4 separate regions of the Homo sapiens genome follow, and all the other regions are linked to region 1. Evidence: promoter capture Hi-C in 16 types of primary human blood cells and fetal thymus (Javierre and others, 2016). All regions are on one chromosome and are shown on one strand. The core of a region is centred on a gene start or on the middle of the fragment in contact, and the rest is flanking DNA. Distances in the headings are between cores, read along the strand shown.

Evidence for each region. The method cuts DNA at HindIII sites, captures the fragments that hold promoters and counts their contacts. A CHiCAGO score of 5 or more calls a contact.
Region 2: the fragment with the promoter of MYL9 here is called in contact with the fragment with the promoter of MTCL2 in region 1 in 12 of 17 cell types (endothelial precursors, total B cells, M2 macrophages and 9 more); the score reaches 12.6 in endothelial precursors.
Region 3: a contact is called between a fragment that was not itself captured here and the fragment with the promoter of MTCL2 in region 1, in 1 of 17 cell types (endothelial precursors). The highest score is 5.9, in endothelial precursors.
Region 4: a contact is called between a fragment that was not itself captured here and the fragment with the promoter of MTCL2 in region 1, in 2 of 17 cell types (endothelial precursors and M2 macrophages). The highest score is 5.5, in endothelial precursors.

Annotation. Positions count from the first base shown.
Region 1 is chr20:36,859,813-36,867,390 of GRCh38, reverse strand. MTCL2 (microtubule crosslinking factor 2) reads left to right here and starts at 3,853. Exons shown (of 15, transcript NM_080627.4): 1 at 3,853-4,733. The coding sequence starts at 4,047. RefSeq lists silencers at 233-302, 3,144-4,033, 4,104-4,253. The HindIII fragment of the contact is 4,947 bases long and covers 49-4,995 here.
Region 2 is chr20:36,539,892-36,547,751 of GRCh38, reverse strand. MYL9 (myosin light chain 9) reads right to left here and starts at 6,233. Exons shown (of 4, transcript NM_006097.5): 1 at 6,191-6,233; 2 at 2,684-2,893. The coding sequence starts at 2,867. The region is part of intron 2 of DLGAP4-AS1 (DLGAP4 antisense RNA 1); the gene reads left to right. RefSeq lists enhancers at 1-196, 2,817-3,470, 3,471-4,124, 4,125-4,778, 4,779-5,432 and a silencer at 6,213-6,412. The HindIII fragment of the contact is 13,527 bases long and covers 1-7,860 here.
Region 3 is chr20:36,472,114-36,479,328 of GRCh38, reverse strand. All of the region lies in intron 7 of DLGAP4 (DLG associated protein 4), which reads right to left. Among named protein-coding and RNA genes, the nearest start is that of MYL9, 66 kb to the left of the region's middle. RefSeq lists an enhancer at 5,888-6,788. The HindIII fragment of the contact is 1,221 bases long and covers 682-1,902 here.
Region 4 is chr20:36,598,025-36,605,920 of GRCh38, reverse strand. The region is part of intron 2 of TGIF2-RAB5IF (TGIF2-RAB5IF readthrough); the gene reads right to left. RAB5IF (RAB5 interacting factor) reads right to left here and starts at 142. Exons shown (of 4, transcript NM_018840.5): 1 at 1-142. RefSeq lists silencers at 1-148, 828-1,227 and enhancers at 349-488, 1,219-1,268, 5,764-5,833. The HindIII fragment of the contact is 4,513 bases long and covers 3,728-7,896 here.

The DNA.
Region 1 (7,578 bases), core at 2,604-5,103:
AAAACAACTTTAGTTTAAAAGGAAAAAACACACCTCCTCTTGGAAGCTTTCCAGGAGTGAGTCTCCATTCAGTTTTCATCACGTTGGTCAATTTAGCAGCTTGAATGGGAGAAATGAAACCGTTTTTCTACTTGGGTAATCAGCATCTTCACTTCCTATGTTATATAATTCTTACAAGGTAATGCTTCAGTCTCTTTTGAGTAGCGCTTTCTGCAGCACACACTGTGTGTCTGTGCTGGGCACTTCGCAGCCCAATAGGGTACCACAACAGGCCCTGGAATTGGGCAGCTCTGGGTTCAAGTCAATCCCAGCCCTGCCACATCCAAGCTGTGTGACCTTGGTCACACATTCCAGCTACCCAGTGTTATGTAACAAATGACCCCAAAACTTAGTGGCCGAAAACAACAATACTTATTTTGCAGTTTGGGCAGGGTTGGTGAGACAGCTCATTTCTGCTCCACTTGTCCACTGGGGCAGCTCCAAGTCTGGGGGCTGAATCATCTGCAGGCTCACTCTCTCACATGTCTGGTGGTTAGTGGGGACCAGAGCTGGAGTTGTTGGCTAGATCACCTTCATGCGGTCTCCCCATGAGGCCTGGGCTTCCTCCTATCATGGTGGGTGAGTGGCCAGAGAGACAGAGAGAGAGAAAGAGAGAGAGAAGCAAGCTGGGTGGAATCCATGTTGCTTTTTATGACCTAACCTTGGAAGTCACAGATGAACACTTCTGCCATACTCTGTTGGTTGAGACAGTCACAAGATCTGCTGAGATTCAAGGTGGGGGCACACAGTGCCCCCACACACGTGCCGCACACATGTGCCGCTCAATTGGAGGAGCATCAGTGTCACATTGTAAGAAGAGCAATTGGGATGAGATATACCCTTTGGAAAATATTAATCAGTCACAAGAAGTATCTTCACCTTTTGGAGATCCTTTACTGAAATGTGGAGCACAGAGCCCGGCACACAGGAAGAGGCCACGCATCACACAGCTGCAGGATGTGCCGGCGCAAGGACGGTCACCCCGTCTACAATGTAGCCAGTTCTGGACTCTCAACAAGTCTTATCTCCTTTGTGGTATCCCTGGTCTGAACTGACCCTGAGTCCACAGCCCCTACGTCAGCCCCACCTAGTCCCTCCCCACCAGAGCCCTGTTGTTCTCAAGGCTTCCCTGGGTCTACAATGTAGATTCTTGACTCCCCAAATCCAAAGCACCTCAGAGCAGGTGGGACCCACAGGCCCCTCCCTGGCCAGCCATGAGTGTTGGGCCCAGAGAGGATAGGTGGTAGAGCCAGGACTCAGATCCCTGCCCTAGAAGAGAGATGCAGGCCACTCTAATCTCAGGACCACTGATGTGACCAAGGGTGTGTCAGGAGTGGCTGAGCCAGCCTGGTCTGCTATGTCCCTGCATTCACACCACCCAACACCTCCAAACCTATGTTCTGCACAGGGGCAGAAACTGAAGCACAGAGAGAGGACACACTTTCCAAGAGCTTCACAGCATCTTTCTGTGCCAGACTAGATGCAGCCTACTAGAGCCAGGGGCATCTGAGCTGGATGGACCCTGTCATCTGTTACATTAGACCAGAGCAGGTGGGGACTCTGAGGCCCGGAATGTGGGAAGGCCTGCCCTGGGTCACTAGCCTGCGGCTCCCACATCCTTCTCCAGCACTCCTGCCCACATGCCATGCCACCCTGTTTGTGCTGAGTCTTTTGTGGTCCCCCCCAACACACACTGTGTGCTCCATGAGTTCAGGCACTGACATGCCCACCACTGCGTCCCTCAGTGTACCTGGCGCCTGTGCAAACAGGGTTTGTGGACAGTCAGTGGGCCGTGAGGGGAGCTGGTGTCTTGCTAGGAGGGGGTGGGGATGCCCCTGCGGAAGTGTTTGCCAAGAGCCTGCTGAGTGCCTGCTCCTCACTTGGCCGTATGGAGGGCACCTAGCGTTGGGGTGGAGGAGCACTCACTCACCTGGATCCAGATGAAGTCATGCCTCTGGAGAGAGGGGATGCCCCAGGAGTGTATTCACAGCGTGTGGGGGAGGTGGGACAGAGACAAAGAAGTGGACCTGGTGCCTGCTGTGTCACAGGCAGGTGCAGAGGTGAAGGAAGGGAATTGGGGGAGGAAGAAGAAGGAGAAAATGGGCAGGAGGAAGAAGAGGGGAAAGAGGAGGAAAAGGAAGACTTGGAAAAGGAGGGGGGAAAGGAAGGGGAAAGATGGGAGAAGAAGGAGGAAGAAAGAGCAGGGGATAAATGGGAGGGGGAGGAGAGAACAGGAGGAGAAAGAGGTTGTAAAGGGGCAAAAACAGCCCTGCCCTTCTGGTGGCAAGGGGTGTGGGGCACCCTAAGGACGAGGGTACATCTGTGGGGCAAAGCACTCAATCCAGCTCTGCCCTGCGGTGGCTCAGGGATGGGGGCGTAGCGGCCAGGCGGTGTGGGGGCTGGGGAAGGTGTGAGAGACATGGGAAAATCAACACGGCCAGGAGCCAAGGAGACGCCCAGACGCCCGGGAGGAAAGAAAACACGCCCATCAGAGCTCAAGTCCTCCTGCACTGCTCCTGGTGGGGACGTGTGGGGTCAGGGCAACCGTCCCAGCCCATGCCAGCCCCCACGGGGGCCAAAACCGCCTTCCAAAGCATCCGCTAGGCTGACATCTCGTAATAGGTCCCCTCCATTTTATTTTTGTTTTTATTTATTTGTTTATTTTTTTGAGATGGAGTCTAGCTCTGCCACCCAGACTGGAGTGCAGTGGCGCGACCTCGGCTCACTGCAACCTCCGCCTCCCGGGTTCAAGCGATTCTCCTGCCTCAGCCTCCCGAGTAGCTGGGATTACAGGCACGCGCTACCACGCCCGGCTAATTTGTGTATTTTTAGTAGAGACGGGGTTTCATCATGTTGGTCAGGCTGGTCTCGAACTCCTGACCTCGTGATCCACCCGCCTCGGCCTCCCAAAGTGCTGGGATTACAGGCATGAGCCACCGCGCCTAGCTACGGGTCGCTTCCATTTTAGCCGTACAGAGCCTGAAACCCGGGTCGGGGGCGCATGGGGAGAAATATCCGCCGGTCAAGGTGCGCGAGCCAGGCATGCACACAGGGCTTCACGGTCCCTATGCCAGGAGAGGGAAGCCGAGGCAGGGGGAGCCCGAGCGCGCCCGGGAGGTGTGAGCTTTGGGTCCCATCGGCGCCGCCTAGACCGTGAGCTTGGCGCGTGCACCCCAGGCTTCAGTTTACGCATCTGTGCGATGGGATCGCGGCTCCGGCGATGCCGGCTAAGGGGGCGGAGTTCGCGCACGCTCGGCACGGGGCGAGGGGCGAGGCGCTGGGCGTGCATGGATGCGGGTTCCTGCGAACTGAGGTCCGCCCGGCCTCGGCCCGGGAGTCCCGGCTCCCGCCGCTCTCGCAGGCCCTGCCCGGACGCCGGGCGCAGGGGCGCCTCCGCCGGGTGCCTTCCCCGAGCGGGCAGGGGAGGAGGCGGCGGAGCGGAGGAGGAGGGAGCCCGGGCCGCGGCTGCCCGCGCCAGCCTGACCCTCGAAGGGGTCGCTGTTGCCTCGCAGATCCCTCCCTCGCTCCCTGCCTGCGTCCCTCCCTGCCGCTCCCGCCGCGTCCGCCTTTTGTTCGCGGAACCGCGCGCCCCCGAGCCGAGGCGGCGGGGCGGGGAGCTGGCGGGGCTGCGCGGGGGGCGGGCTGCGCCGGGCGGAGCCGGGGCCCGGGCCGCAGCCGGACTCGGAGCCCGAGGGAGCGATCGGCGTGCGGGCGGCGGGGGCCCGGGCGCGCTCCGGGGGCGCGGCGAGGCCGAGGGGGCGGGCGCCGGGCGGAGCCGCAGCCGGAGCCGGGGCGCCTGGAGGCGGTCGGGCCGCACTCTCCGAGCCCAGAGCAGCGGAGAGACCGCGCGGCGGGGCTTGGGACGGGGACGCGGTGTCGGGGCCGAGGTGGGCCGAGAGCAGCCGCAGCCCCAGCGGCCGGAGCCGCGCCGGGTCCCTCCCCAGGGACGTCGAGGCCGGGCGGGCCTGGGCCATGCGCGCAGCTCGCTGAGGCCGAGGGAGGCCGCGATGGAGGCGCCGGCGGCCGAGCCCCCGGTCCGGGGCTGCGGTCCCCAGCCCGCGCCTGCACCCGCGCCTGCCCCGGAGAGGAAAAAGAGCCACCGCGCGCCGTCGCCGGCCCGGCCCAAAGACGTGGCCGGCTGGTCGCTGGCTAAGGGCCGCCGCGGCCCAGGCCCGGGCTCAGCAGTCGCCTGCAGCGCCGCGTTCTCCTCACGGCCGGACAAGAAGGGGCGCGCAGTGGCTCCCGGGGCGCGCGGTGCGGGTGTGCGGGTGGCCGGGGTCCGCACCGGGGTCCGTGCCAAGGGCCGTCCGCGCTCGGGTGCGGGGCCGCGACCGCCACCGCCGCCCCCCAGCCTCACGGATAGCAGCTCGGAGGTGTCGGACTGCGCGTCGGAGGAGGCGCGCCTGCTGGGCCTGGAGCTGGCGCTGAGCAGCGACGCCGAGTCCGCGGCCGGGGGCCCGGCGGGGGTCCGTACGGGGCAGCCGGCCCAGCCCGCGCCCTCCGCGCAGCAGCCCCCGCGGCCGCCCGCCTCCCCGGACGAGCCGTCGGTGGCCGCGTCGTCGGTGGGCAGCAGCCGCTTGCCGCTCAGCGCCTCGCTTGCCTTCTCCGACCTCACCGAGGAGATGCTGGACTGCGGGCCCAGCGGCTTGGTGCGGGAGCTGGAGGAGCTGCGCTCGGAGAACGACTATCTCAAGGTGGGGGCGCCCGGGTAGAAAGGGAGGTCGCAGGGGTCGCCGGCTGTCACAGTCCCGCGGGCCTGAGGCACCAGCCGGCCCTCCTTCCCACTGAACAATCCGGAGAAAGGGGCCCAAGCCCTCTGGGGACCACTCTGAGGTGGATCTGGGGCTCCCTCATTCCCCCCGCCCCCTCTCAACTTTATTTGGGAAGCGCGCTCCTGAAAAAGACCTTGGAACTGGCTACAGGGCCCTAACCTGGGAGCGGGGACTTGAGAAAGCTTTGGAGCGTTCTGGGAGGCGTTGCTGAGGTGGGGGTGGGTAGCCAGGGAAGGGATGGATCTCTGCCTTCAGCTGCCCAGAACCTCCACGCCCAGGCTCTCCTTCTTGGGACGGGATTGATAGACACCGCCGCCAGGGAAACCTGTGGCCATCCCCTGCCCAGGAAAGGCCTGAATGCCATCCTGAGTCGTTACCCAGGGCTTTCCCGGGCGCAGGCCTGTCTCTGCCTGCCTTTCTGGGCGGGTCCAGTTTGAAAGCATGACATCTGGGAACATCCCCTTGGCTGGAGTCCACTTCCGCCCAGCCTAACGGTCCCACAGCCTGGAGGATGATGTCGTGGGAGAACCGGTTCAGAGGCAGCTTCCTAAATCCCAGGACAGTGTCTTTTGCCCTCCCTGGGGCAGACCTTGTGCACACAACAGCCCCATTGGCCCCTCGTGGCCAGTGCCTTTCCATGTTCGCAGTGAGAGGAGGGCAACTGCCCACCTGGAACAGGACTTCCCTGTGGCCATGTGGGGACCCTAGGGCTTCCCCCGGACAGCAGGCTTTGCCTTTGCTTTTTCAGTGGACATGAGCACCTACTGGGTGCCAGCCGGGCTCCATCTGCACGCTTCCAGGTGCCATGGCAGCTTTAGGGACAGCCCAGCTTGCACGTGTTGACCTCTCCCTGGGAGGCTGGAAGCTTCCTGAGCTCTCCTGCCGCTGGCTGGGCACGGTTTTGGAGGAGGCTGAAATGTTGCCGACTCTTGTCAGTGGATGATGGCCTGGCACAACACCCAGAGTGCCCCTGGCTGTGGAGCTCACAGCATGCTGCTGGTTTATGTCTGCCCTCAGCACTTAGGTTTTAACTTTTCCTTGTGGCTCTTCTGACCAAATGGGCTTCTCCCTCATTAGAGTGTTGGTGTCTTGCTCAACTATGTCTCTGTCTCCCCATTTTCCCCGGGATCTGCTCTCCAGCCTGAGTTCTGTAAATGCTTGTAGTATGGAAGGACAAGGTCTGTCTGAATCAAGAGACACCTTTCCCCAAGCCAGGCCTCAGTCTCCTCATCCGTTAAATGGGAGGATGTCTTCCCAAGGGCCGGGTTCGGTGTTGGCAACTGGGAGTTCAGTCGGCTCTTTGAGTCTTCAGAAGCCGGTGGTAAGGAGAGGGCAAGTGGAAGGTGAGGAGGAGGAGGGAGGTGACGAGCCAGGACAAGGGTCTTTTGCTCCTGCCCTCTTGGTGCTCTGAGCTGCTTCCAGTGAGTGCTGCCTGAATTGGCCTTAACCGAAACTCTGAGTTCCTCACCCCTGCCTCCCGGTTCCTGCTACTCACTCTGGTGAAGGGGGATGGGTTGCAGAGCTTTGCTTCAGGGCTCCTAGGCACCCATCTCCATGGGCCCCTGTCCATCCCAGGAAGTCATCAGGCTCTGACCCAAAGTCTGTTTGAGGCACCCATGACTGTTTAAAGGGGAAAACAGTCCCAGGAGGCTGGGGGTTGAGCCCGGGATCTCACAGGGGCCGGGGTCCAGCTGGGGACATCCCACGTTTGGGCCAAGATGGAACCGTAATTTCCACCATTCATTCAGTGGCTCAGGCTTCGTGCTGCTATTGGATCTGGGGTCTGTCGCTTCCTGACGGCGTGATCTTTGGCAAGTTACTTAAAGGCCCTGGACCTTTGCTTTCTCATTTGTAAAAATGGGACAGTAACACGCTTTCCAACCTCAACGGTTAAATGAGCTGATTCCTGCAAACACCATTAGAGCACCTGGTATGTAGTAAACCTCTGATCACTGCTCTTGTCAGAGGCACGGGACATGTTTCCATGTGCACCCAGCCTGTTCTCTTGTGGATTCTGTGAGGGCAGAATAGATCCTCTTCATCACCCAAGGCAGGCTGGGCTCTTTCTCCTGGCCCCTCATTGGTTCATTCGGCAGCTGTTTATTTAGAACCTGCCGTGTGCTAGGGCAGATCTGGGATACAGCTGTGGACAAGGGAGGATGAGGTGTCTGTTTTCATAGAGCTTTTGGGGAGACCAGAATTAAACAATAGTCATACAAGAAATCACAACACAGATCATAATGAGGGTAAAGGGGACAGTTTGCCAGGAGCACACGAAGGTGGGGGCTGGGGTGCACAGGGAGGCTGAGGGCTGCAGGATGCCGTGGAGCCAACTGAGTGAGGGTCTGGAGTAAGAAGATTTCAGGCTAAGGGAAATTGGAATGCTCGTTGAGTTCAAGAACAGCGCTAAGGCCAGAGAGGGGAAGGAGTGTGGGTAAGAGAGGAGAGCAAGGCCAGCCCATGCCACTTCTCACTGTGTACATTTGGGTTAGTCCCTTAACTTCTCTGTATATCTGTTTATCCCAGCCGCCAGCCTCACAGAGGCAGGGTCAAAATCCAGAGACTAAATGTGGACCATAAATAGAGGGGTTATTACTGGAGGTGTTGTGTTGTTTATTCCACAGATGGGAAAACTGTGGCCAGAGTGGGTCCCAGAGCAGGGTCGCTAGGCTGCCAGGGCTTGGAGTAAGCATGTGTTAGACTCTTGATGTGTTTTCTGCCTTTCTGGACTACTTTGCCTCTAAGATGCAGAAACTGAGTACAAGGG
Region 2 (7,860 bases), core at 4,984-7,483, 320 kb after region 1:
GCTGGTCGACCACGTGCCTTATTGCATTTAACTTTCACCACCCTGTGAAGTCAGCATTCTTACCCACTTCACAGGTATGGAAGCTGAGGCACAGAGAGGCCAGGTGACTTGTCCAGGGTCAGACAGCAAGTAAGGAGGAGACTTGAGTAGACCTGGCATTTGAACCCAGGCAGCCTAACTCCAAAGTCCAGACACAGTGCTTTGCTGTCAGACAGGCCTGGGTTTGGATCCCAGCTGTGCACCTTGGTTTTCCCCATCTCTTAGGGGAATTGTGAAGACAGTAGTTGCAAAAGGCTCATAACAATGACTGGCACAGGCCTATGGACTGGAATCAACTGCTGGGTTTCTATTGCAGCCCCACTACTTGGTAGCTGTGTGACCTTGGGTAAATTACTTAACCTCTCTGAGCCTCAGTTTCCTTGTTTGTAAAGTGGGAATAATTGTATCTGTTCAATAGGATTGCTTTGAGATTTAAGATAATACCTGCAGGGCTTCTTCTTATTATTATATTTGCTGCTCTTGTTTTTAACTTGAAGATAAGGGTGTGACTCACCTGCAGACCCACGGATATGAGCTACAAACACAGTGCATGTTTTTCTGGGTGGACACCCAGGGCTGTCATGAAGTCTCAGGGGTTCAGGGGCCTGGGTGCAGGGTGTGGCCTTGGAAATAGGAAGTTTTCATGTCCCTGAGCCTCACATACCCTGCTGTGTCCCCCTGGGATGGCCATGGAAGCTGAGGCCCAAGAGGAGCTGTGACGCCAGGACACTGGGGTACTTAAGGCCAGCCCCTTCTCTCACCAGGCCTCAGTCCTTCCACGAAGCTGGGAAAGCCCCAGATAAGAACCCTGGAGTTGGCCAGGCGTGGTAGCTCACACCTGTAATCCCAGTACTTTGGGAGGCCAAGATGGGCTCTGGAGTTTGAGACCAGCCTGGCCAACATGGCGAAACCCTGTCTCTACTAAAAATACAAAAATTAGCCGGGCATGGTGGCGCACGTCTGTAATCCCAGCTACTGGGGAGGCTGAGGCAGGAGAATCTCTTGAACCTGGGAGACGGAGGTTGCAGTGAGCCGAGATGGTGCCACTCCAGCCTGGGCAACAGAGTGAGATTTTGTCTCGGGGGGAAAAAAAAAGAACCCTGGAGTTTACTTCCTGCCAGGTGACCTCCTGGGGGAGGGAGCCTTCAAGCGAGCCTGGCCAGAAGCGGGGAGAGGTTTGGTGCTCAGGGCCGGGGGCAGCGTGCTGTCAGTTCTCCCACTCAGGTTTGCCTGGTTCTCCTGCTCAGTGCCTCGTGGGGAAATGTCAGGGTCATGGCCCCATTTCACAGGAAGAGGAAAGTGCACAGGGCCCTACCAGGGACTGACTCTCTGGCCTCAAAGCTCGAGGCTTGACTGTCACGGGGCTGTGTCCTCTGGTCCTGGACTCTCCCTCCCCCAGGCAGTGTCTGGTCTGGATGCTGTCACTCGGCATGAGGGGTACGCGGGAACTGGGCTGAGAGTGGCTGGCTGTGGCCAGCACTTTGGGAGGGATGTTGGGGCAGGCCCGTGGGTTGGGGCATGGTCTGTGGAGGCCTTGCCTCTGGGCCTGTGTTTCCCCATCTGCAGTAGAGAATTGGACTTGATTTTTGTACCCTGTTAGTTCTAAGGTCCTGATCCTGAGGAAGTCACTGGGACCAGAGAGGCTATGAGAGCCTGAGATGGGTGACCTCTGAAGGAGGGGAGCTGGTCTGGCCGCCCCTCTAGGCCTCAGTTTCCCCATCTGTGCAGTGGGCAGCCTGCAGTTCACACTTTCATTTAGATGCTGACCTCTTTCTTTCCTTTCTTTCTGTTTTGAGACGGAGTCTTGCTCTGTCGCCCAGGCTGGAGTGCAGTGGCGTGATCTTGGCTCACTGCAAACTCCGCCTCCCAGGTTCACACCATTCTCCTGCCTCAGCCTCCCGAGTAGCTGGCGCCCGCCACCACGCCCAGCTAATTTTTGTATTTTTAGTAGAGACGGGGTTTCACCATGTTAGCCAGGATGATCTCGATCTTCTGACCTCGTGATCCGCCCGCCTTGGCCTCCCAAAATGCTGGGATTACAGGCGTGAGCCACAGCGCCTGGCCAGCTGACCCCTTTCTTTAAATGAAATGATACCTGGCAGCCCAGTGCACAAATCTGCCTAAGACAGGCCCACTGTGGAGTCAGCCTGTCTACGTTCAGACCCTGTGGTGGACCTGCTTTGTGCTTCAGTTTCCCTGTTTTTTTTTTTTTTTTTGAGATGGAGTCTCGCTCTGTTGCCCAGGCTGGAGTGCAGTGGGGCGATCTCGGCTCACTGCAACCTCCGCTTTCCGGGTTCACGCCATTCTCCTGCCTCAGCCTCCCAAGTAGCTGGGACTACAGGCGCCCGCCACCACGCTCGGCTAATTTTTGGTATTTTTAGTAGAGTCAGGGTTTCACCGTGTTAGCCAGGATGGTCTCGATCTCCTGACCTATTGATCCGCCCGCCTTGGCCTCCCAAAGTGCTGGGATTACAGGCGTGAGCCACCGCGCCCGGCCCAGTTTCCCTGTTGAATGGACTAAGTTAATGGCAACTATTCTCTAAGGTGGACACCACGCGTCTCACTACACAGGAGGTGCCCTGTAAATGATTGGCAGAGCCTGCCTGGCCTCATCCATCTCACCCCTGTCCCTGTCCCAGCTCACCCAGCGAGGCCAGCATGTCGTGCAGGTCCTCCTTGTCAATGAAGCCATCACGGTTCTGGTCAATCATGTTGAAAGCCTCCTTAAACTCCTGGATCTGGGACTGGTCAAACATTGCGAAGACATTGGATGTGGCCCGCTGTGGCCGCTTCTTGGTGGTCTTGGCTTTGGCCCGCTTGCTGGACATCTTGGCTTCTGGTGGGTGGGGCTTCCCTGCAGGAAGGGGTGGGGGTTGGGTGGCCCTGTGACTCTGGGCCAGGGAATCTTCCTGCCTCCCCCAGACTGGCTTTTAGCACTTCGGCCTGGCATTCAAGGCTGCCCACGGATTTGGGGCTCCCACCACCCAGTTCTTCACAAAAGCAGACAAGTGTGGCTGTGTGATTCTGAACAACTTCCTCTACCTCTCTGAGCCCGAGAGTCTTCATCTGGGACTGGAGACATGAGGAGTGCCCAGCAGTAGGGATTAACTGACTCAGTGCCCGAGAGCTCCTGGAACAGTGCCGGGCATGGAATCAGCTATTTTGGCTGTGACTGTTTGGGTAAAACACTTAGGATTGGGCTTGGTGCCAACCATTACCATGCTTTATCTCCTTTAATCCTTAATAGCATTTACACTGTCCCTCTCTCTTTCCAAGTGACAAGGTGGGTCCACTCGTGGGAGTCAGTGAGGGCTCTCCTGGGCTGCCATCCAGGCTCCCTGGCCCTGCAGGAAGGAGCTGGATCAGCATTCCTGCATTCCTGCCGTTCCTCACTCTCCCACTCCATCCCTCTGCTGCCCGCCTGAGGTTCTAGGAGGCTCTGGGCAGTCAAACCCCCGCCTGTCCACCTCAGGGAGCTTGACCAGCCCCCCAGTGGTGAGTGGTCACAGACTGATCCTGGGTCCCACTCCTTGTTCTCACTCCCCACTGCTTATCGGGGTGTGAGGCTTGCTTGGGCTGAGAACCCCAGCTTCTTCACCCTTGCTTAGACCTGGCTTCTTAGCCTCCAGCCGGCCTCTTCTGTCCCATACAGACCCTGACCTACACCTATCATTGTGAAGCCCTTGAAGGTTCCTGCCGCCCCTCAGAGCAAGTCTGGGTCCCTCATCCTGGCATTCAAGGCCCTGTGTGAGTCCCTCCTGGCCTCTCTGACAGCCCTCGTGGTGTCCCTCTTGTGACCCACAATCCTACCCTTCTGACCTCTGCAGTTCCCTGGACACTCCCAGGCTTTCCTCTGTGGTCCCCTCCTCCCCTGTGCTCTTTCTTCTCCAGCCCAGTTCTTGAGACCGCCCCCCTCTCCTAGGGAGCTGTTCCCTGTACCCTTGCTTCCACAGTAAACACTTAAAGATCTCTCTCCCTTGTGGGCCAGCATAGATCCCCCAGTTTACACCAATCCCAGGCCATAGTTGGGCTAACAGATGCTTGTTTGATGAATGACTATATGAAGGCAACTACGGCCAGTCTGCTGCTTCTACTGTACAGATGGGGAAACTGAGACCAGGCCTGGGACTGTTTCCCTGAATGCTTGCCACAGCTTGTGGGGATATGCGCCTGAAGACCCAGTGCCTCCTTCCCTCGGCTGGGGCAGTGGGCCTGGCTGAGGTTCCAGGACTGCGGCCCCTCTTCCCTCTGCCCAAACCCCCGGGCCCAGGGCCTCCAGGAAGCCTCCTCTGCCTGTTGTTCACCCCAAGCTGTGTGGTTGCAACTTGAGCTGTTTCCAGGCCTTCCTCCCATGACTCTGTTGAAGTCATTCTCGGTCCTTGGCCTTTGAGATCATCAACCCTGGACTGGGATCCCGGCCAGCCCCAGCTGGTCCCCAGGGCCATCACTGCCTGTAGTCATGAGACAGTGGTTGCCCGTGTCCCACGGACCGACACACCCAGCCCTCAGTGTTTCTTGCATGGTTCAGGAAGGTAGACAGAATTCCTTCTCACCCATGACCTAGTTGGGAGTGCCATTGTCCCCAGATGCCGGCCCCCTCCTCTCCCGTGCTTTAGAGGGGCCTAGTCCTTCCCTGAGTCCAGTGTTCTCGGGAACTTTGACTCCTGGTGCCCACAGAAGGCTGCATGCAGAGAGGCAGTGCACTGTGCCCAACAGAGGCTGTGATGGCCATCACTGTCCCCACCACACTCTATGAAGCTCTAGGGCAGGCATGGCCAGGCCACCCACAGCTGGGTCTGAGCCCAGCTGGGCCCCTCTGCCTTCATGGCCACCCGGTCTGCACTCTCTGCTGTGGTGTGGCTGGGAGCACTGTACTTAAGGGCTTGCACAAGGCCGCCATGTCCACCCCAGCAATTGTGGGAAGTGGTGAGCGGAGGCAGGGGTGCCCCCATGGTGCAGCTAGGAAAAGAGGCCCCAGAAGGGGAGTGGAGTGCCCATGAGAGGGGGAGGGGCCACCTGGAAGACAGGATTCCTGGGCTAGGTTTGGGTCAGTGGAGAGCAAACTTGGCTGCTGGTGCCCTCGAGGCTTGAACAAAACAGGGAGCCCCAGTCCTCAGGCGGGCCTGTGGCAGTGGAGTGGGAAAGGGCTCTGTGTATCCAGAGGCGCCTTCTAGAACTGGTGGAGGGGCGAGGGGCAGGCATGGGTGGGGCCTTTAGTTCTGAGGCCATCGCTTCCCCCTTCAGGTGCCCTAGACACCAGGGGTCAGCACTGATACTTGGCCTGGATGTGACTGGATGCCATGTCCCCCATCCTGGTGTCCAGATTCCCACCATAACAGAAAAGGCTGGGCTGAAGCCAGCACAGGGCAGTGCCCCCATGACCTCCAGCCCCTGGAGCTGGGCAGGCCAGATGCCTCCTTCTCAGTGCACCTCATCTGAGTCTCCTCCTTAGAGCAGCTGGAGGGCTGGGAAGAGCAGGGATCAGGTTCTCCCAGCCACTAGTCCTCGTCCTGCCCCCTAGGGGTGAGTCCATCAGGGCCCTCCGCAGACCTTCCCCACCCACAGGCGAGATGACCCAGAGAGGGGAAGGCCCGGGTCCCTGCATACAGCACTGGCTGTGTCGGAAGGGCCCCCTGGTCTCGGTCCCTTTCCCCTGGCCCAGGGTGTAGGGATGGGAGATGGGGAGGGGACACAGATGCTGTGGGGGCGTGGAGTCCCACAGGGCTGTTTCTCCATCTGTGACACACATGCCTTTACTGGGCCAGGGGGAACTGACGACTGCAACCCTCTCCCCAGCACCCTTGTACCCGGGCTCCCCAGCCCCCCCCGGAGCTCTGGGCTTGGCATCTCCAGCTCCTCAGCAAAGGGGCAGGGCCTGGACGATGGCCTTCCCTTGCCGCAGGACCACTGCTTCTCAGAGGCCAGAACAGCCTTCCTGCTGCCCGGCCCCTGGCCAGAGTCCCTGTCGGCCCCCAGCAAACTCGCTGCCCCAGCTCACCCCTCAGTCCGTGCCCAACAGACCCTACCACGTCCCAGTCCGTGGGGCCCGCCTTTGCCCCCCGTGACAGCCGGGTCGGGCCCGGGCCACCTCTCATCTCCAGCCCTGGGCCGTTAGGCCTGTCCTCAAGACCCCCGGGGCCCCGGATCCCACCTGGTGCGGAGAAGGCGCTTGGGCTCGCTGGGTGCGTGGAACTGGGCCGGCCGTCGGGTCTGGACTCCAGGCGGGGGCGGGGCGTGGCGGCCGGGCCTTACAAGGCAGAAGAATGTGCGCGGGGCGGGGCCGCGGGCGGGGTGCGGGGGCCCTCGGCTGCCGTCCGGCCTTATTTGGCCTCGACCCACGGGCTGGCAGGCGGGGGCGCTCTGGGGTGAGCCCCCCTTCCTTGCTGTGCCAGCCCGGGCTGCACAGAGGGCCTTGTAGGGAGGGGAGGTGATGGGGTGAGCAGGCAATGGGAGAGGGGGTGTGGGGGTTCGCTCTGGGCCACCCCTTCCCCTCCAGAGAGGCAAACGGAATGTCCAGGGCCGCTTCCCCAGAGGCCTCCCACTTGTATGGGCCGTGGGAGTGCAGCTTCCCCTGACGGGCAACGGCTCTCGACGTGGGGAGGGCAGAGGCGGTGGGTGGGGGGGCTCCCAGGGACCCCTACGCCCGGTGACTCGCTCTGTCCACATCAGCGGTCGCCCGCCAGAGCGGGGTTGAAGGAACCACTCGGGAAGCACTGGTTTCGTGGAGGGAAACACGATGAACAAGTAGCTCCGCGGCCTGGGGCCTCAAAGGAGAAGGGGACCTGGGGGGAGCGTGGGCTGTTCCGCAGGGTGCTCTGGGCAGTGACATTGGGCAGACAGGAGGTGCAGGGGTGCGCCCCGCCGTGAGGGCTCCCGGGCTTGGGGTCGCCGGCAGCAGGAGGTCAGGAGGATGGGGGCGGGAGCCGGAGGGGCTGAGAAGCAGCAGGGACCCCTCTGTGGCTCCCTGTAGGCCATGTGGGGTGTCGGAGGGTTCCGAGCAGGGGGTGACGACCTGGCTTGGGTTTTGACGGAATCCTTCTGGGTGATGTGTTGAAAATAGCGCAGAGGGGGCCGAGTCCACGAGCAGGGGACCTGTGAGGAGCGACCCAGCAAGGATCAGGCTGATCCGGACTAGCGGGGAGGCCGAGGGACAAGTGCTAAAACTATTTCCGAGGTGCAGCCGGTAGGATCTGCTGGGGCATGGGAATGGGTGTGAAAGAAAAGAGTTAGGGTGGACTCTCAGAGTTTTGATGTGAGCAACGAGAAAGAGCTGCCATTTTCTATGATGGGTTTGCTGTGTGGAGCAGTTTGGGGATAAGAAACTCTATTTTGGACAGATTAATTTTTAAAAACTTTATTTTGAAATGATTTCAGACTTAGGATAAAGTTAGAAGAACTGTGCAAAGAACCCTGTATAGCTTCATCTAGATTCTCCATTTGTTACCATTGGGTTTTATTATATTTTCTTCTTGCTTTCCATATACATATACATATATATAATACATGTACATACATTTATATTTATTTATTCCTACCCCCAACCATTTGAGAGTTTCTTGCATACGTATGTCCTGTTATCTCTACATGTTTCAGTGAGTACCTCCTAAAAAGGAGATTCTCTTAAATATGCATAGTACAATGATAAAAGTCAGGACAATTTTCACATTGATTTAATTACCTAATTTACAGTCCATATTCAGGTTGTGCCAGTTATCCCAATAATGTCCTTTAGAGGAATTTTTTCTGGTCTAGGAGCCAAAGTAAGATCATTTGTCATCACATTTCTTCAGTGTCCCAGTTTTACATTTTATTTTTTGATTG
Region 3 (7,215 bases), core at 43-2,542, 390 kb after region 1:
ACCCTCTCATTTCACCCTAAAAATGACACAGGCTGGCAGAGCCCTCATCCTAGAAGACTTTGAAGACTCTAAGTAGAGAAGAGTAAGAGACAACTTGGCAAGCAGATGACAGTGATGCTGGAACAAGTCTTGACTATATGTCCCCTCATGCCCACAGAGCCCGCCCCACTCAACGTTCCTCTCAACTACCTCTGAAAGCACAACATGGTAACATCTGGGAAGATGTCTTTGAAAGAACATCTACCAATCAGAAGGTCACCAACCACCCCATCCTGTCCATAGAACTCTGCCCCAACAATGGCACAGGGTCAGCCACACTGAGGAGTGGCTGAACATTAGTGGCTAATAATCACAGTTGCCAGATGTTTTTCACCTGCTCAGGAATTGGTGGTTATTGCAGTAGCCCAATCACCATCTGAGGTCCTAACCTCTGCATCTTACATTTGATCCCCTCAAGGAGATGTTTTCATCATCACCCCTGTGCTACTAAGGAAAAAGGAGGCTCAGAGAGGTTGAAGGCTCTGTTCGGGATCACACAGTGAGTCATGTTCTATCTGCTAAGTGAGTACAAACCCTACAGGTTTCAACTTCCAGAATGCAACCTTCACAGGATCCAGCCTCACAAGTAGTAAAAATACAAGCTTGCTTCGGCAAGACTGACACATACATTCCTACAAAGCTTAGAAGCTGCTGTAGATAGCCAAGTTTGTCCTCCTGCTCTGGTTGGTGGAATCTGACTACAGTACACTCTCATAAACATCCCGAGGCCAGGCAGCATCCCAAGAAACATCTGGAGAAAACAGACTTTACCTTGATAACATCTACCCCCTGGGAGCTGCTCTGCCCTGATGTTTTTGCAAACATACTTCCGAAGGCTTCGAACTGTCCTGCCAGACTCTTTTCTGCTCTCACAAAGAGACCTGTGACATCAATTGCCCTTCATAGTCCTTTCCCCTCCCAGGACTGCCACCCATCTGTAAAAGCAGGGGACTGCACTAGATTAGGGAGGGCACAGATTCCACTGGGCATGCTACTTCTGGTTGATTGGTTTTGCCTGTGTCGAGAAGACTCCTCACGCTGTATCCAGGGGTCAATGGGAGTGCTGTGGCTGATGCTGTCTGCCATGGGTCCAGTAGGAGGGGTAATTGCCCAGTGCAAGATATTTGCTGTCCCTGGACAAGATGATCACCATGAAAGTCATTTAGGACTCTAGTCCTATGACACAGAATTATTGTCTTTATTCCCTACCCAAATCTTTACCCTCTATCCTCCCTCACAGGCCCATCAACACTGGAGCTTCTTGAGAAATGTTTCAAATCCAGTAAGACGGAAAAGCAAACATCTATTTCAAGTCTACTGTCCTTCGAAAGACTGACCAACAAGAAACCTTAAAAAGCTGCAACTTGTGGAGGGTAGCTGGGTTTCAGCCCAATTTTACCAGTGAAGTGCCGTATGACCTTGGGCAAGTCCCTGTATTTCTGGGTCTCCACTACTTCTACAAATTGGGATCAGGCGTCCTATTTTCCTTGCATTTAACTGCATCCAAACACTGTGCTAGGATTCTCAAAACTGCAAAGGAAGTCCATCATCTGTCTCACTGACTCTGAGTCATAAATATGTTGGAAAGTATTGTCCCATTTCCCAGAAGAGGAAGCTGAGGCTGAGGCAGGTGGAGGGACTTGGCCCAAATCCTAGAGCAAGTAGCTAATGAAGGAATTATGCTTGGGTCCTGTGATCAGATCCACAGCCTTCCTCATCCCATTATCCTGCCTCCATAGGGGGCAGTGGCCAGGCTCCTCAAAGCCACCAGGGGCTTTGGAACCAAGGCTACCTCTGCAGAGGAGGCTCTCCCAGATGATCAGTCCCTTAGCAATTCTGCCAGGATAAGGCCACACATAAGCTTAGATGTGCATTGTGCATTAACTTGGAGAATTGCCTGGGCATGGTGGCTCATGCCTGTAATCCCAGCACTTTGGGAGGCAGAGGCGGGTGGATCACTTGAGGTCAGGAGTTCAAAACCAGCCTGGCCAACATGGTGAAACCCCTCTCTACTGAAAATGCAAAAATTAGCCGGGCGTGGTGGCGGGTGCCTGTAATCCCAGCTACCTGGGAGGCTGAGGCAGGAGAATCACTTGGACCTAGGAGGCGAGGTTGCAGGGAGCCGAAATTGTGCCACTGCACTCCAAGCTGGGTGACAGAGACTCTGTCTTAAAAAAAAAAAAGAAAAAAGAGAAAAAAACAAACTTGGAGAATTAATCACTACCATAAGAGTTAATTATTCAGAGCATTCCCCTCAGCTGCCCTTCAAATATATCTCCTTAAAATGGGCCAGAGAGGGCTGGGCATGGTAGCTCACGCCTGTAATCCCAGCACTTTGGGAGGCTGAGGCAGGCGGATCACCTGAGGTCAGGAGTTTGAGATCACCCCGACTAAAATGGAGAAACCCAGTCTCTATTAAAAACACAAAATTAGCCGGGTATGGTGGTGCATGCCTGTAATCCCAGCTACTTGGGAGATTGCTTGAACCTGGGAGGCGGAGGTTGCGGTGAGCCAAGATTGTGCCATTGCACTCCAGCCTGGGCAACAAGAACGAAACTCCATCTCAAAAAAAAAAAAAAAAAAACCAAAAAAAAAAAAAAAATTGGGCTAGTGAATGAGATACCTAGAGTAATAGAATTCATAGAAAGAATGGTGGTTGCTGGCCAGGTGCGGTGGCTCACGCCTGTAATCCCAACACTTTGGGAGGCTGAGGCGGGTGGATCACCGGAGGTCTGAAGTTTGAGACCAGCCTGACCAACATGGTGAAACCCTGTTTCTACTAAAAATATAAAAAATTAGCCGGGCATGGTGGCAGATGCCTGTAAGCCCAGCTACTCGGGAGGCAGAGGGAGGAAAATTGCTTGAACCTGGGAGGTGGAGGTTGCAGTGAGCCAAGAGAGCGCCATTGCACTCCAGCCTGGGAGACAGAGCGAGACTGTGTCTCCAAAAAAAAAAAAAAAAAAAAAAAAAAGGTGGTTGCCAGGGACCAGGCAAGGGGGTAATGGGGAGTTAGTGTTTAATAGGCACGGAGTTTCAGTTTGGGAAGATGAAGAGTTAAAGAGACGGATAGTGATGATGGCTATACAACAATGGGAATGTACTTAGTGCCAATGAACTGCACACTTAAAAATGGTTAAGAAGGGCCGGGCGCGTGTGTAATCCCAGCACTTTGGGAGGCCAAGGCAGGTGGATCACCTGAGCTCAGGAGTTTGAGACCAGCCTGGCCAACATGGTGAAACCCTGTCTCTACTAAAAATACAAAAATTAACCAGGTGTGGTGGCGCGTGCCTGCAATCCAGCTACTCGGGAGGCTGAGGCACGAGAATTGCTTGAACCCGGGAGGCGAAGGTTGCAGTGAGCCGAAACTGCGCCACTGCACTCCAGCCTGGGCGACAGAGTGAGACTCTGTCTCAAAACAAACAAAAAAAAGGTTAAGATGGTCATTAAGACAGTGTTAAAAATGGACTAGTGAGCGGCCCACTGAAGAATGAGCCCCAGCAGTTATCAAACTGCTTTGATTTTACTCATTCCAAACCTAAAAGTCACAAATAAAATATTTAAAACTAAGCATTTTTAAAAATTTTCTGATTTGAGTTAACTGTATTTGTGAGCAAGGGCTGGTTAATAATCTGCCTACAATCTCTTTACTGAAATTCAGCAAATATAAATAAAAGAAAAATAATCCAAACAGAAAATAAAGATCAGAGGTGTACAAAGGCAGTAATGGATGTGTTAGTATCATAGAATCTTGGACAGGAATTGGGTAAGAGATTGTATGGAGAGCCGGGCTTGGTGGCTCACGCCTGTAATCCCAGCACTTTGGGAGGCCGAGGCGGGCGGATCACAAGGTCAGGAGTTCGAGACCAGCCTGGTCAACATGGCAAAATCCCATCTCTACTAAAAATACAAAAATTAGCCAGGCATGGTGGCAGGCGCCTGTAATCCCAGCTACTCAGGAGGCTGAGGCAGGGGAATCACTTGAACCCGGCAGGCGAGGCTACAGTGAGTCAAGATCATGTCACTACATTCCAGCCTGGGTGACAGAGCGGGACTCCATCTCAAAAAAAAAGGAAGAAACATATAAACATATTCACTTGCAGTACATTCATTATCACACCTCTTTAGGTTCACCGAGACCCCCAGGGTCCTGCCTGACCTTGAGACTACTCCAGATGTAACCCCTACCTCTCCTGTTCCCTCAAGATACCCCCACCTCAGGGTCGTGACACCTCCCAGTCGGCCCTTGACTGCCTCCTTCCCATCCAGCAGTCACTTTCCCTGAGATGCCTTCCCCAATTTCTCAGCATCTACTTGTTTCCTTTAGGGTTCTCATCACTAACAGATTAGACAGTATCCTGTTTATTTGTTACCTGCTTGGGTGGGGACTCCAAGCTGGAGGGAAGTCAATCTTGTTCCCTAGTCTCTCCCTGGCTCCTGGCACAGCACTTGGCACTCAAGTAAATGAATGGCTGATTGTTTGGAAAGAGAAGTGGAGGTGGGGTAGGAAGGAGGGAGGAGCCCAATCCCTGCCCTCCACCCCCCACCCTTCCCACACACTGCTGCATGTGCCTCTTTTAAAGAAACTGCTGGGACAGCAGCAACGGTGGCAGCCCTACCTTTACTGGGTGATGTCAGACAGGCCCCTCTTCCCCACCCCACCTTGGTCTGCACTCCACAGGCAGGCAGACAACTCCTATTACTGCATCCCTGTGCAGGGCAACAGCCACGCCAGGGGGAAGGCAAGAAAGTTCCAGGAGAGGCTAGAACTATCCAACCTATTCTCCGCAGTCAATAATAGGTCCTCGTCACAGCCCCCAGTAGGAAACTGCCCAGATGGAGTGATGACCCTGCAGAGAGAACTCTAGCTCCACATACCTGGCAGATTCTGACAGCCCTGGATAGATTCTCCAGCCTGATCTTGGGTTTCCTGAACCCTGGACAGTCTGCCCTTCTTCCCCTTCCCTCACGCAGAGCATTCGCCTCTCCCCTAACCCAGGCCACCTTTCCCCATAAGAGCCCTGCACTTGGCAAACAGCCATCAAATAACTGACTCCACTCCAAACAGCCCACCCAATCCATCTACATCTTTCCAGGCATGGGACATGGACAGTTTTTGGCTATTTCAAGTCTTCTCTTTCCCCCTGGATGTCAGTAACAGCAGCAGCTAATACTTCTCAAATGCTTCCTCTGTACCAGGCACTGTGCTTAGTGCTTTGCACAAGTTTCTGTTGTCCTCATGCTGGACTACAGTCAGGTATTATTAGCATCTCTATTTTGCAGGTGAAGAAACAAGCCCAGAGAGGTTAAGTACCTTGTCCAAGGTCTCACAGCTCTAGCTGGCAGCCCAGGAACTGAACCCCAGCAGTCCAACTCTACAGAGATGCTCTTAACTATAGGTACATATGACCTCTGGGGTGTGGGCTTCCTGATCACCTACTGTATGCTCAGTAGGTGCCCTTAGGGACTGGACTCCAGCTCTGTACTTAGGGACCCTGTGACTGTGCAAAGGAGAAGAGAGGTACATAAAAATCGTATTTGCTGGCCAGGCATGGTAGCTCACACCTGTAATCCCAGCACTTTGGGAGGCCAAGGCGGGCAGACTGCTTGGGCCCAGGAGTTTGAGACCAACGTGGGTAGCATAGTGGGAAATCTCTATTTTAAAAAATCATATTTGGTCTAGCAACAAAATTGATACCATATTTGCATTGATAAGTCTGAGAATTTCCTTAGTAAAAGCACAGGAAATAGGAACTTGAGACCCCAGCTAATCAGGTAACAGTTAATATCTGAAAGACACAGGCCAACCAAACTGGGTGTTACGATACTCTCTCACCAGCTTCCAGGAACCAAATTCAACTTAATAGCAGAGATAGAAGGAGCTCCCTCCTGCTGACAAACAAATGAGGAATCTGCAGGCCAGAGAAGGGAAGGGTCTTGCCTGAGGCCACCCAACAACTCAGCGACATAAAATGGTGAGAAGCCAGCAGTTCCAGCTCCTCCATCCTTTGGCTTTCAGGACATCTGGGTCCCAAAAAGAAACTATAGGAGGTAAGTAAGTGCCCACAGTGACCAAAAGTTTAAGAGTTTTCATGGTAAAGACAGGGCACTGGCTCTTACCTTCAGGGAAAGTGAAATGCTCTGTGAAAGCTGGGTTTGGGAAGCCAGGATTTCTTTCCCAAGCTGACAGAAGCCCAGCTCCAGCTCAGCTCTGCCCCGGAAGGATGGGAGTTTAAAAGGCCTACCTGGAGCCCGGCTGGGACCACACCCACATGGGGCTGACTTCACCAGAGAACCCATCCTACTGGCTGTCTCCCAGACAGCAGTGGGCCAGGCCAGGACGCCACTGCCTGTCTGTAGCCTGGCGCCTCTCCCTGCGGGGCCCCACCCAGTCCCTACCCCAGCCAGGCTCCCAGAGCAAGGGTGGGAGTGGGTAGGGAAAAGGCCTGCTCCCCTCCTCATGAGGCCACCTGGGCCTGGGTCCCTCAGAGTGTCCCCTCAGCCTGGGCTGGGTCTGAAGTGGCTGCTTCCTGCTTTGCCATTTTTCTTTCACTTTGGTTTTTAACCCCAAAGTGAAACTTTACGACTAGAACAATTTGGGAAAGATGTTGAGAGTTAAGGACTAGGAGAGTCAAATGCCTGGCTTCTAATCCAAGCAGAAGTGAGCTGAGACCTGTCAAGTTCACTGGGAGACTTGGGAGGAGATCTTCAACTTCTCCAGGCTGCAGTTTTCCTATTGATAAAATAGGAGGGAGGAACTAAGCTAGTGATTTTTTTTTTTTTTTTTTTTTTGAGACAGGGTTTTGCTTTGTCACCCAGGCTAGAGTGCAGTGGCACAAACAGCTCACTACAGCCTTGACCTCCTGGGCTCAAGTGATCCTTTCGCCTTAGCCCCACAAGCAGCTAAGAATACAGGTGTGCACCACCACATCCAGCTAATTTTTGTATTTTTTTATAGAGACGGCGTTTCGCTATGTTGCCCAGACTGGTCTTTAACTCCTGAGCTCAAGTGATCCACTCGTCTTGGCTTCCCAAAGTGCTGGGATAACAGGCATGAGCCACCACACCTGGCCCCCACTAGGCTAGTGATTTTAAATGTCATTTTAAATTAGAAAAAAATGATAGAACTTTCCCTTCCTCATCCCTGCTGCCACTGGAGCTAAAAAAGGAGCTGCAAAG
Region 4 (7,896 bases), core at 4,735-7,234, 260 kb after region 1:
GGCGCGCGGGCTGAGCCAAAGGGAGTCGGGGTCTAGGGTCGCAGGTCACGGCGCGGGGCGGCTGCAGGCTCAGCGGCCCGGTCCTGCGGCGCGCTGCGGTTCCTCACAACCTGGCCAAGCTACCCGGTTCCGCCGGCTCTACAGAGCAGGCGCCGCGAAGGGAGGGGCGGTGCAGTGTCGCGCGCCCTCCCGCCGACGTGCTCACGCAGCCAATCGGCGACCGCGAAGCCATCCGAGTGAAACAGCGACCGGCGCCTTGGCGCAAGCGCGCTACTCGTGGCGGAAATGACGTCAGCATCCGCCGGGCTCGCGGTAAGGTGTGAGGGGAGGGACAATCTTGGTAGAACGGTGACATGGGCGCCAGGAGGCGCTGTGGAGACCGAGGAGGTAGGGGAAAACCGAGGCTGGACGTCAGCGTCGCCCAGTCGGCCACAGCTGCCCCTCGAGCAGCGAGTGGGGCAGGAGCGGCTCTACCTTTCCTTGCGACCTACTCGCCTGCTGAGCCCAGACCTTGCTCCAGGGTAGCTCCAAGCTGCCCCACAGGATTTAGCCCGCTTATTTTCTCCCCTAACCCTGCAAGTTCTGTAGGGCCTTGTTGAAGATGTTAACTCTTCTGTAATAACTAACCATTTCATCTTGCCCAGCACCCTCTTTTGGCACACGAGAGCCCTGAGACCCCAAAAGAGGAAATGAGATTCTGAGGCCGTATAGCAAGGTGGACCCAACCGGGGACTCCTGGGCGGCAAATACAAGGATTGGGTTAGGTATCAGGATATCTGAGTGTTCACATACAGCGTCCTCACCATGTGCTGCGTCAGTGGTTCACAAAGTGAGCTTCCGGATCAGCAGCGGCCGTATCGCCTGGGAACTGGGTAGAGGCGCAGGTTCTCGGCCCCCATTCCACGCCTACTGACTCAGAACCCCTGGGGATGGGGCTCCTTCCGGTGGCCCTCCAGGTGGTGCCAGGCTCACTGTGCTGGTAAGTCCAGAGACCAAGGCACATCCCTTCTGGACAGTGGATTTTTTTTTTTTTTTTTTTTTGAGACGGCACGGTCTCTGCTCACTGCAACCTCCACCTCCCGGGTTCAAGCGATTCTCGTGCCTCAGCCTCCCACGTAGCTGGGATCACAGGCGCCCACTACCACGCTCCACTAGTTTTTTTTGTATTTTAGTAGAGACGGGGGTTTCACTATGTTGCCCAGGCTGGTCTCGAACTCCTGAGCTCAGGCAATCCGCCCATCTTGGCCTCCCAAAGTGCTAGGATTACAGGCGTGAGCCACCTCACCCGGCCTCTGGACAGTGGATTTATAAAGACAAGTAATGTATCTGGTACCTGGGTGTGTCTGACTCCAGAATCTGTGCTCTTAACCGTTAAACTTTAAAGCTGAGAGTATCTTTTTTTTTTTTAAACAGGTCAGAGTATCTTTTGCATACCTATCAACATTCACCTGTAATTCTTCACTTTTCAGGAGTAATAGAACCTCCCTAGGGAGGCCAGGCGCAGTGGCTCACTCCCATAATCCCAGCACTTTGGAAGGCCGAGGTCGGTGGATCACTTGAGGTCAGGAGTTCGAGACCAGCCTGGCCAACATGGTTGAAAGCCCGTCTCTACTAAAAATGCAAAAAAAATTAGCCGGGCGTGGTGGTGGGGACCTGTAATCCCAGCTTCTCAGGAGGCTCGAGGCATGAGAATTGTTTGAACCTGGGAGGTGGAGGTTGCAGTGAGCCAAGATCGCGCCATTGCACTCCAGCCTGGGCAACAGAGCAAGACTTGGTCTCAAAAACAAAACAAAAAACAAACAAAAAACCTCCTAGAGAGCTTTTCCAGAATACTATAGCTGCTGTTTTCCACCCCAAGCCCACCCTGACATTGTTTCAGTAGATTAAGTGGGGCTGGACCCCCAAGGTGAAACATACTGTGATCACGTTACTGTCTGGAACTGGTGGAAGGGCCGTATACGTTATATGGGTGCACTCCTTTTGTCCTAAGTTTCCCCGTGGGTCTTGTTCTTTTCAGCCCTGCCTCTTTTCTGATCCAGTTTCCCTCCCATATGAAATGGTAAAGCTTAGCCAGTTGAAGGAAATCAAAATATTTTACCCCAAAATATGGCTCCCTAGTATAATGACTATTTTAGTTTAGTTTTTAAGACAGGGTCTCACTCTGTTGCCCGTGCTCAAATGCGGTGGCATGATCAGGGCTCACTGCAGCTTTGATCTTCTGGGCTCAAGCGATCTTCCCACCTCAACTTCCCAAGTAGCTGGAGCTGCAGGCACAGGCACATGCCACCAACCTGGCTAAGATTTTTTTTTTTTTTTTTATAGACAGAGTCTCACTCTGTCGCCCAAGCTGGAGTGCAGTGGCATGATCTCAGCTCACTGCAACCTCTGCCTCCCAGATTCAACCAGTTCTATTGACTTAGTCTCCCCAGAAGCTGGGAATACAGATGCGTACCACCACAACCTGGCTAATTTTTGTATTTTTCAGTAGAGATGGGATTTTGCCATCTTGTCCAGGCTGGTCTCAAATTCCTGACCTCAAGTGATCCGCCTGCCTCAGCCTCCCAAAGGGCTGGGATTACAGGCATGAGCCACCACACCCTGACAGGTTTGTTTTTTTTTGTTTTTGTTTTTTAATTTTCTGTAGAGACAGGGTCTCACTATGTTGCCTAGGCTGGTCTTGAACTCCTGGGCTCAAGCAGTCCTCCCACCTCGGTCTCCCAATGTGTTGGGATTACAGGCATGACCCACTGTGCCTAGCATAATGAATATCTGAACTTGAAAACCTAATCAAGGTGCTGGAAGAGACTTTTCCCGTATCTACATAAAGATATGACTGACCCACCAAGGAGAAGAGTTCTTGTTCCTCTCCCTGTTATCTCACTTTCTTTTTTTTTTGGGACGGAGTCTCGCTCTGTTGCCCAGGCTGGAGTGCAGTGGCGCGATATCGGCTGACTGGGTTCACGCCATTCTCCTGCCTCAGCCTCCCCAGTAGCTGGGACTACAGGCACCCGCCACCATGCCTGGCTAATTTTTTGTATTTTTAGTAGAGACAGGGTTTAACCGTGTTAGTCAGGACAGTCTTGATCTCCTGACCTCGTGATCCGCCCGCCTCGGCCTCCCAAAGTGATGGGATTACAGGCGTGAGCCACCACACCCAGCTATCTCGCTTTCTATTGCAGAAGAGAAGACAGTGTAACCACACCTGAACAGACCCTTTTTCAAGGTAATGACTGTCTCCAAGAATAATTTAAATTCCAAAGATAACTATTTACAGGTTAATTTCTGTTTCTGATCCATTCTTCCTAATAATCATTTGTTGTCCCTCAGTAAAATTCCTTGCTCCCCCTTCCCATAACCTGTTCTACCAGGATCCAAGCCCCCATTCTTTCTGTAACCTCAAGATGGTACAGAAGCTTCTGTACCTGGTCGGGTGCAGTGGCTCACACCTGTAATCTCAGCACTTTGGGAGGCCGAGGCGAGTGGATCACCTTAGGTTAGGAGTTCGACACCAGCCTGACCAACATGGAGAAACCCCATCTCTACTAAGATTACAAAAAATTAGCCGAACGTAGTGGCATGTGCCTGTAATTCCAGCTATTCAGGAGGCTGAGGCAGGAGAATTGCTTGAACCTGGGAGACGGAGGTTGCAGTGAGCCGAGATCGTGCCATTGCACTCCAGCTTGGGCAACAAGAGCGAAACTCCATCTAAAAAAAAAAAAAAGAAGCTTCTGTACCTTATTGGGGAGTTGGGGAGCTGGGTCTTCATTCTGAAGACTCCTGTGTATACACGTTAAATCAAATTGTATGCCTTTTTTCCTGGTAATCAATCTGCCTCATATCACTGATTTTCAGGGAAACTTCAGAGGGCCAAGAGCTTCCAAACTGACTGGTTTGGAAGTGTACCATTGTTACAAAACCTCTTTTACAGACTCCCTGCTGGCATGTAGTTCAGAAGACAAACTAATGAATCTGTCACAGAATGTTGGAAGAATGACTAGCCCTTGGCCTAAAGGTAAGTTTTCACTCTGCCAGGTCTCCCCCTGGTGAAGATGTATAATGGGGAACCTGATCTGGGGGGATTAGGGAAGGGTAAACTCTGAAGGAAGACATTAGAAGGAAAAGAGGGAGGTGAAGGTGGGAGATAACATTTAGGGAAATGAAACCATGTGGGCTAATGGTAAGGAATGAAGCCACCAGAGGGGAAGCACGGGAGAATCATGCTGAAGAGTTTGCTTCTTATCCAGGGGTAGGGGAAGCCATCAGGTTTGCATCTTAGAAGGATCATGCTTGCTGCTATTTGGGGGACTGGATCAGAATGGGGGACTAGTTAAAAGGCTGTTAAAGTCATTTAGGTGAGAGTTGGTGAGGGCACTGAAGATGCAGAAAACTGGATTCAACAGTTCTTTTTTTTTTTTTTTTTTTTTTGAGACGGAGTCTCATTCTTGTTGCCCAAGCTGGAGTACAGTGGCATGATCTCAGCTCACTGCAACCTCCACCTCCCGGGTTCAAGCGAGTCTCCTGCCTTAGCCTCCCGAGTAGCTGGAATTACAGGCGCCCGCCACCACGCCTGGCTAATTTTTTTTGTATTTTTAGTAGAGACAGGGTTTCACCATGTTTGGCCAGGCTGGTCTCGAACCCCTGACCTCAGGTGATCCACCCACCTCGGCCCCACAAAGTGCTGGGATTACAGGCGTGAGCCACCATGCCCAGCCCGTTCTTTTTTAAATTAAACATATTACTTATTTATTTATTTTGGAGACAGAGTCTCGCTCTGTCGCCCAGGCTGGAGTGCAGCGACACCATCTCAGCTCACTGCAGCCTCTGCCTCCCAGGTTCAAGTGATTCTCGTGCCTCAGCCTCTGGAGTAGATGGGATTACAGGTGTGCGCCACCACACCTGGCTAATTTTTTGTATTTTAGTAGACATGGGGTTTCACTGTGTTACCCAGGGTGGTCTTGAACTACTGAGCTCAGGCAATCTGCCTGCCTCAGCCTTCCAAAGTGCTGGGATTACAGGTGTGAGCCACCACACCCAACCAAATTAAAAATATTTTTAAGGGCCTGGCATGGTGGTTCATGCCTGTAATCCCAGCACTTTGGGAGGCCAAGACAGGAGGATCACTTGAGCCCAGGAGCTCAAGACTAGCCTGGGCTACACAGGGAGACCCCGTCTCCACAAAAAAAAAAAGAAAGAAAAAAACAATTAGCCAGGCATGGTGGTGCACACCTGTAGTCCCAGCTATTTGAAGGCTGAGGTGGGAGGCTTGCTTAAGCCCAGAAGGTAGAGGCAGCAGTGAGCTGTGATCATCACACCACTGCACTCCAGCCTGGGTGACAGAGTGAGAGACTCTCTCAAAAAAAAAAATTGTTTTTTAAATTTTAGTAAAATATATCTAACAAAGTTTATCATTTCAACACTTATTAAGTGTACAGTTCAGTGGCATTAAGTGTATTCACTTTGTTCTGCAGCCATCACCACCATCCATTTTCAGAACTTTGTCACCTTGTAAAATTGAAACTCTGTACCCATTAAAAATAACTCCTCATTCTCCCATTTCCCCAGTCCCTGGAAACCAGTTCCATTCTACTTTCTCTGTAGGAATTTGACTGTTCTAATGGGTATCTCATAGGAGTACAGTATTCGTCCTTTTGTGACTGGTTTGTTTCAGTTAGCATTATGTCCTCCAGTTTCACCCACGTTGTAGCATGTGTTAGAATTTCCTTCCTTTTTAAAGCTGTTGTATGTACATACCACATGTTGCTTACCTACTGATAGACATTTGGGTTGCTTACACTTTGACTATTCTGAATAATGCTGCTATGAATTGGAGTGTACAAATATCTGTTTGTGTCCCTGCTTTGTTATTTTGGGCATATTCTCAGAAGTGGAATTGCTAGATCATATCGTAATTCTATTTTTAATTTTTTGAGGAAGTGTTGTTTTCCACAGCAGCTGCGGCATTTTACATTTCCACCAGCAGTGCACAAGGGTTCGGAGATACATGTTTTTTTTTTTTTTTTGAGAAGGAGTCTCGCTCTGTTGCCCAGGCTGGAGTACAGTGGCACAACCTCAGCTCACTGCAACCTCCGCCTCCTGGGTTCAAGCGATTCTTCTGCCTCAGCCTCCCAAGTAGCTGGGATTACAGGCACCCGCCACCATGCCCAGCTAATTTTTGTATTTTTAGTAGAGACAGGGTTTTGCCATGTTGGCCAGACTGGTCTGGAACTCCTGACGTCATGATCCGCCTGCGTCGGCCTCCCAAAGTGCTGGGATTACAGGTGTGAGTCACCGTGCTCAGCCTTTTTCTGCTGTTAATAATCATCCTACTAGGTGCAAAGTAGTATTTTCACTGTGGTTTTGATTTGCACTTCCCTAGTGATTAGTAATGATTGAGCATCTCATTAGACAGTATTTTTTTATGTCATATTTGTTTTTTCTTTTTCTTTTTTTTTTTTTTTTTGAGACAGAGTCTCGCCCTGTCACCCAGGTTGGAGTGCAGTGGTACGATCTTGGCTCACTGCAACCTCCACCTCCCAGGTTCAAGGGATTCTCCTCAGCCTCCCAAGTAGCTGGGATTACAGGTGCCCACCACTATGCCCAGCTAATTTTTGTATTTTTAGTAGAGACGGGGTTTCATCATGTTGGCCAGGCTGGTCTCGAACTCCTGACCTCAAGTGATACGCCCACCTCAGCCTCTCAAAGTGCTGAGATTACAGGCATGAGCCACTGCGTCCGGCTCTAGGTCATGTTTGTATTACATTGCGAAGCTCTGACCGTAACTCCAAGAGCCATTATGTTTGCATGGGATTGGGAGAGGTCACAGAAAGTTCTAGTTGGAAGGGTCCTCAAATCCTGCAGTGTAGCCCAAGGTCATAAGGGAAGTTAGAAGTTCAACAGGCATCTGAAACCTGATCCCTGTTCCTCCTCTTACCTCTCTAGGAGCAGACAAAGCTAAGCTGGCAGCCAGAGGGGAAGCCCTTGTCTAAAAGGTATTTTTGGGACTCAGACTTGTTCCCTATTTGCTTTCACCCAAGGCTTTCCTTATCTTAGGAAGCGGGGAACCTGGCTGAATCTCAGTGAATCCGTCTGGTTAAAATAAACATCTTGGGTGGTCTGAGTTGGAAAATAACTTGATGAAGGGTCAGATTTGAAAGTGGGAGAGACAGATTTGGAAGTAGGACAAATTTTGTCTTTGTGAGTTTGTAGCTGTTTAGTACTAGTTGAACACATGAGCTCAGCCTTAGGGCTATTTCCCAGCTGAATGCCTCGATAGCACTGCCAGCTGCTTGGAGTGGGGTTTGGAGAGGAAGGTATATTCTGAGGGGTAAGACTGGCCCCTCACAGGCACTGATGGATCACAGGTATCAGAAATCCTGGGGGCAACCATCAGCCATGGAAAGAGCACCTGTTGTTGGAATGGAGGTCTGAGATTGCATCCTGGTCTTTTTTTTTCTTTTTGGCCCACAATAAATGTCATACTAGCACTTAATGAACCCTCACTAGCTACCAGTCACTTCACTAAATGTTTTACATTCATTTGTTTTGTTTTGTTTTTGAGACAGTCTCACTCTGTCACCCAGGCTGGAGTGCAGTGGGACAATCTCAACTCACTGCAACCTCCACCTCCTGGGTTCAAGCAATTCTCCTGCCTCAGCCTCCGGAGTAGCTGGGACTACAGGCACCTGCCACCATGCTCAGCTAATTTTTGTATTTTGTAGAGATGGGGTTTTGCCACGTTTGCCAGGCTGGTCTCAAGCTCCTGACCTTGGGTGATCCACCCGCCTCGGCCTTCCAAAGTGATGGAATTACAGGTATAAGCCACTGCATCTGGCTACATTCGTTTTCATCCAAAACCTGGCTGGGCTTTTAACCATTAACCATTATGCTAAACTCTTC